2 separate regions of the Homo sapiens genome follow, and region 2 is linked to region 1. The links are contacts of gene promoters, found by promoter capture Hi-C in blood cells and fetal thymus (Javierre and others, 2016). All regions are on one chromosome and are shown on one strand. Each heading gives the region's core, a stretch centred on a gene start or on the middle of the fragment in contact. The rest is flanking DNA. Distances are from core to core; before and after follow the strand shown. Region 1 holds the start of DCDC2C (doublecortin domain containing 2C). Region 2 holds the start of LINC00487 (long intergenic non-protein coding RNA 487).

The links. The method cuts DNA at HindIII sites, captures the fragments that hold promoters and counts their contacts. A CHiCAGO score of 5 or more calls a contact.
Region 2: a fragment that was not itself captured here is called in contact with the fragment with the promoter of DCDC2C in region 1 in 1 of 17 cell types (endothelial precursors); the score reaches 5.3 in endothelial precursors.

The regions. Positions count from the first base shown.
Region 1 is chr2:3,701,949-3,705,294 of GRCh38, reverse strand. It overlaps DCDC2C (doublecortin domain containing 2C), which reads right to left and starts at 1,720. Exons shown (of 11, transcript NM_001287444.2): 1 at 1,257-1,720. The coding sequence starts at 1,543. It overlaps ALLC (allantoicase), which reads right to left. Exons shown (of 12, transcript NM_018436.4): 12 at 2,624-2,932. The coding sequence ends at 2,732. LOC105373393 (a long non-coding RNA gene) reads left to right here and starts at 1,795. Exons shown (of 3, transcript XR_922732.1): 1 at 1,795-1,836; 2 at 2,181-2,487; 3 at 2,656-2,735. The HindIII fragment of the contact is 3,644 bases long and covers 450-3,346 here.
Region 2 is chr2:6,767,596-6,770,837 of GRCh38, reverse strand. LINC00487 (long intergenic non-protein coding RNA 487) reads left to right here and starts at 527. Exons shown (of 6, transcript NR_038369.1): 1 at 527-759. The HindIII fragment of the contact is 3,332 bases long and covers 1-3,058 here.

The sequences.
Region 1 (3,346 bases), core at 471-2,970:
CCAGATTCTACCTCTTAGCAACTGTGATGCCTGTGACTTACGACTTTTCTTCAGAAACAACTGAATGGTAAATTCACATCTTTGCAAATGCCACTAAGAATTTGGAACCATACACCAGCCCTCATACTAAATCCTACTACTTTTTCAAAAAACAACAAACAAAACTCAAGCTGCTGATTTAATTCAGAGCATTTTTGAACGGAGAGCATTTGAAAGAAGAAAATGGAAATTCTCTCTGGGGAATCTCACTTTTATCTCAGCCCTGAAGAATGTCCCCACACAAAGCTATACAAAAGGAGTAGTTCACAGTCAAAAAATAAGTAAACCTACAAGGAAACAGAGAATCAGGAGAGAAAAGCAGCTGAGATCACAGAAAGCAGACACAGGCTGCAATAATGGGATTACAGACACAAACCGTGGGAGGGCAATAGTTTAATTAAAGGCAAGCTTGAAAATGCACGCAGGACCAAGTGATGGACACAGAGTGAGAGGGGTCACCCTGAGCGATTTCAAATGGGAACTGCCCAACCCGCCCCATTCCCAGGCCCTGCCCCCCACGCCCCTCCCCCCCACGCCCCTCCCCCCTCCCCCTCCCCTACACTCCTCCCCACGCCCCCCACGCCCCTCTCCACACCCCTCCCCCATGCCCCTCTCCACACCCCTCCCCCACGCCCCTCTCCACACCCCTCCCCCACGCCCCCCACGCCCCTCTCCACACCCCTCCCCCATGCCCTCCTCCACACCCGTTTCTGCCCCATGCCCCTCCCCCACGCCCCTCCCCCCTCCCCCTCCCCTACACTCCTCCCCACGCCCCCCACGCCCCTCTCCACACCCCTCCCCCATGCCCCTCTCCACACCCCTCCCCCACGCCCCTCTCCACACCCCTCCCCCACGCCCCCCACGCCCCTCTCCACACCCCTCCCCCACGCCCTCCTCCACACCCCTGTTTCTGCCCCACGCCCCTCCCCCACGCCCTCCTGGCCGTCTCTGGGGCGGTCCTGAATCGCTGCCGGCCAGGGCCCGCCCTGCCCCATAGGAAGGGACCCTGGGGGCGGGGCTGCCTCGGCTTCGCCCCCAGGAAACCACGTGGCCTGGGGCGGCCCGACGCCGGCTGCGCTGGATCCACGCCGAAAGATGGGCGCCCGAGCCGGGAGGGAAGCCTGGGGAGGACACCTGGGGGGCACGGCCCTGACCACGCTCAGACCCAAGAGGGCGGGGAGGGGCGCAGGGCGCGTGGGGGGCGCGGGCGCACTTACTCGAGCTCCTTGAAGCGCTCGCGGCCCGCCGCCACGTACTTGCCGCCCGCCTGCAGCGCGTCCAGCCCCAGCACCCGGTGCCCACGCGTGGGCGTGAAGAGGCGGCGCACGCCGAACGGGACGTCCACCTGCTCCGTGAGCTGCTCCAGCAGCGCCTCGAAGGTGGCCGCGCGGCGCCGCGACAGCACGAACTTCTTGCCCACGTAGAACGGGTCCCCGTTGCGGTACACCACGATGGTCTTGGCGGGCGTGGTGTCCACCGGCGCGGAGGGCCCGCGGGTTCCCATAGCCGCGCCCCGCTCCTCGCTCGCCGGGGCCGAGAGGCTGCGGCAGCGCGGGCAGCGACGCCTGCAGAGCCGCGCCCAGGCCCGGGCACCGCCGACGGGAGGTCCGCTCCAGCCGCTGGCGCAGGACGGGGACGGGACGGGGACGGGACGGGGGCTGGACGGGGACGGGACGGGGCTGCCAGGCGGGCGGAGGCTGCGTGTTGACGCGACCCTGGGCGATTGTGACCGCCTGGCCGCCAGGGCGAGGGGCTCGGGGCCGGGGCAGGAGACGGGGCGACGGGGAACCCGGGCAGGTGAGCAGGCGGCACGGGGCAGGGACAGGTGATTGGGTAATGGGGAGCCCAAGCAGGTGAGGCGCGGCACAGGGCGGAGACAGGTGAGGGGGCAACGGGGAGCCCGGGCAGGTGAGGGGCGTGGCGGCAGAGCTCAGGAAAAGAGGAGGAGGAGGCGGCTAGCATGATTGTGCTGAGCGCCCCGGGACGCCCACCGTGCCTCCTCCCCCTACACTCGCCGCCTTCCTCTGTAGAAGCGGTAGAGAGGAGGGTTAGGGAGGGACCAGGACCATCTTGACAATCAACATTGGATGGGTGCTGGGATCTGCTTCACATTTTTTGAGCCTCTGTTTCTTTGATCTTAGGTTGAATTTGACCGGTTCAGCCCCAGTGTCTTCCAGGACTCCTGGCCCAGAGTGGGGAATTTGAGCTTTTCCACCAGAGGAGGAGGTGTGCAGAGCCACTGGGAGGCCGTGAGGAACCGCGCTATAGCCGCTGGTGTGCGGTGTCAGGCGCGTGCCATTCAGAACGCATCCTCATTGGGGAATGATTCAAAGGGAGAGGGGGTCTTTGGAAGAATCGTTCCTACTCTGGGTAAAGATAGGCCAGTCCCCTTGAGTGATTCTAGACAGTCAGTAGGCTACATGTTACGGCTGGAAGTCCACACCGAAGGTACAGATATTGATATTATGAGTATTAATATCTTATAATGTTCAAAAAAAGTAGTTCCGTAGAGACCACCAGTCACAGCCATAGCCAGTATGTAAGCTACTAAATGCCTCATAGCAACATTAAATACAGAGATCAATTTGTGAGACGACCACTTTATTAAATCACCAGGTGTTCAAAACATTTGAAAAGAAGACTATGACTGGGAAATTACTGCTGTGTGTCCGACACCGGGGCTTTGTGTGTGTTAAGGGTTTGCTTTGAAGCTCACCGAGAACTTCAACATGGGCTTCTCCCGGGGCCTCAGGAGGCAGATGGAGCTGGGGAAGCCCCGGAGCCGAAGGCGGCTCACTCCCCCGTCGGGGACGATGGTGAGCCTGGCGTGAGTGATGACATCTTGGAGCTCTAGGGTCAGGCTATCGAACAGATGACTTTGGTTGGGAGACAACTGAAAAGCAAGCAGATGCAGAGGTCCTAGTCTGTTAACAGGACATGTGTGGCCGAATGAGCCCACGGCCCGGGCAAACCTTTGGCTTAGACTTAACCGAAGGGGCTTTAAAATAAGTTATTAATTGATGATAATTGGGCTTTCCATGAAAATCTGCTAGTAGGGATAGGATGCCCAAATAATACATGAATAAGCAGGCCCCAATAAACAATTGATGGGCAACCTAAATGCCCATCAGTTGTTTCTAATAGTTGATTATACATAAGCAAATTGATAAGAAAATGAAGGAAGAGACCATCTTGGTCTCTCCCGGAGATTATTTCCTATCTTTACATGGGAGCAGCTCTCACCTCTAGCCTGACCCTCTTTCTAAATCAAAGAAGACACTTGTGGAATATCTCAGAGCATCCATCC
Region 2 (3,242 bases), core at 143-2,642, 3.1 Mb before region 1:
ATTATTATTACCGTATTCTCTCTGCTTACAGACAGAGAGATTGAGGTGTGGCAAGTAGGTAGTAAAATCCACCTTCTTCTTCTGTGAGGTTCCTCCTGTTCCCAGGGGTGTGGGGACGGTGAGTGGTGGATGGGTGAGGTCTTACAATGCAAAACTGCTGATTTCTACATCCGAAAAAAATCATGAATATGAACGATTATAGCCAGATTGAAACTATCATTATTTTCGGTAAGAAAAAGTGCGTCTATTCACAGAAAGTCAGGTACTTTTCCCCAAAATCACATGGGAAAAGTGTGCAAATACAGAACAGCCCTTCCAGGAAGGAACTATTTTCTCCGAAACAGGAAATTGTTGTACATTCAGACACACCATAAATACACGTCTAGTTTGTACATGGCAATTCCAGGGTCTGAGGCTCTTCCTTCCTGGCCCTAGAATGGCGTCTCTTGCGCTGTGGGCTTCCTGTTGAGGCAGGGGCTGAGGAGGTGGGAAGCAGAGGCTGAGATTTTCCTTCACCACGGTCACAGAAGATGCGCTGTTCCAGGGGCCTGGGTGGGAGCAGCCCAGGAGCCTGCGTCTCCCCTCCTCGGCCCTGGGAGGCGGCTGGACTGTGCCACACGGGACGGGTGCTGAGGGACCGCTGGGTGCCCACCTCCCTGACCCCTCCTGCAGGGGTGCCTGCCAAGCAGCCTGGGCACTGCCGTCTGGAAGATGCGCCGTGCCGGTTCTACACGGTGTTCCCTTGCTCCAGGCAGAAAGGTCAGTCCAGGCTTCTCACTCCATCGTGGCCAGAAGCCAAGTCTCATGGCATGAGATTCAACCAAAGAGAATCTCCTGGAGCTTCTTTACCTCATCAGACTTATATCCCACACAACACACACACACCCCCATCCATAAATGTGTGTATGTATATACCACACACGTACACACACATATGCCACACACATGCACACCACACACACAGAATGAATACACATACACCACACACATAAACACACACGTGTGTATGTATATATCACACACTTAAACACACGCATGCCACACACGTGCACACCACACACACAAAATGAATACACAGACACCACACACACAAACACAGAGATATCACACACATACATACACACACCATGCAACACACAAACATGCATACACATATTCCACACACAGAAACACACAGACACCACACATATACACACAGACATGCATACACACAACACACATATAAACACACAAATGCCACACACCAACACATGCCACACACAAACATGCACACACATACACCACACACATAAACACACAATACCACACACATACACAGACACTAACACACACTACACAAACATGCACACACATACACTACACACAAAAATACACAGATACCACACACATACACAGACACTAACACACACTACACAAACATGCATACACATACACCACAGATGTAAACACACAGATACATACATACACACACACCAACACCCACACTACACACATAAACACATGCATCATATGTAACACACATTACACAGACTTATATCCCACACAACACACACATACCCACATTCAACACACACACTTGCTCACACCCCTTCCCACACAATCCAACACACACACCCCCACATTCAACACACACGCATGCTCACACCCCTTCCCACACAACCCAACACACACACACCCACATTCAACACACACACTTGCTCACACCCTTTCCCACACAACCCAACACACACACACCCACATTCAACACACACATATGCTCACACCCCTTCCCACACAACCCAACACACACACACACACGCCTCCACGTACATCTTTTTATGGTAGTTATTTTTTTGTAAGTAAAATATTTGTATAATATCAGCTTATTGTTTGCCATAGCATAACTTATTTCAAACTTGTCCAACCTGCAGCCCATGTGGCCTGGGGTGGCTTTGAATGCAGCCCAACCCAAATTTGTAAACCTTTTAAAAACATTGAGATTTCTCAGCTATGATTTTCTTTAGCTCATCAGCTATTGCTAGTGTGGTGTATTTTATGTGTGGCCCAAGACAATAATTCTTCTTCCAATGTGGCCCAGGGAAGCCAAAAGACTGGACGCCCCTGAATTATGTGGTTCTCATCCTAGGTGATTTTGCCCCTGGAGGTAGGTGGAAAGTCTGGAAACATTTTTGGCGATCGCAGCTGGAGGGGGCTCTTGGCATCTACGGGTGGAGCCAGGGTTTAGGGTGTGTGCAGCACCAAAGGCTCGATGCCTCCCCAACACCAAAGAACCCTCTGAGCCCGTAGTGCGGAGACCAGAAACCCGATTTCAATTTCCTAGTAAAAGAAAACGGAAATGAAAACGACAAAACGGTCCTGTGTCTTCTCTCTTCTCGGTGCAGCTATCTGGATGGGGCGACTTGGAATTCCGAGTCTAGGCCTTGCACTGATTTTCCCCCCTGACATCTGGGAAGCCATTTCACTGTTTAAAACCAAAGATGCTGAGTGGCAGCTGCCACCAATTGGAAGGGGACAGGAGAAAGGGATTTTTATGAAGAGCCTGTGTGCCTTGGATGCTGCAGGTGGAGACCTCTGCAGTTTGTCCAGCAACTGCCTGCCAGAGATGGGCCAGAGAAGGGCCAAGCAGCTCCCTCCTATCGGAGGTCCACAGGTGGACCCCCACCCCCAGTCTCCATCCCCGGTCCACGCCCCAGTCCCTGCTGGTGGGGAAGCTGGGGAGCAGGCCATGCGTGTAATTCCAGAAGCTATTGCATGGCAAAGGCTACGTGCCCTCAAAGCCCGGGCACCTCCCTGGCCCCACAACTGCTTCACACAATACTTGTGTTTCTGTACGTTCTATGTGAAGTTTCAGGAAAGAATCTGTAAGTGATGTCTAAAGCAAGTTTCTGAATATTTATGCTGTAATACACGGCCATGAGCATGCTGGCTACTCATTTCTAATCCTATGACAAATGCACAAGGGCAGGTACTGGGAGAGTGAACTGTTTCCCTGGCCAGGGACCCAAGCACCACTTGGGGCATCAGAAGGAAGCCCTCTGGTTTTGGCCAAGGAGAAGCTTGCACTGTTTTACTAGAAACGTCCTATGTGAATCCATCCTCTGTGATTCCACGACTTTGTATGACTTGCTTGGTGCTTCCAAGGACGTAGGAACTGAAGGGTGGGGCATGTTCTGTGCACTTTTGTCATGGGAAAGCTGGCTTTTGGGAAACCCCCTGGCCCCACAGTTGCTCCCAGAAGCCAT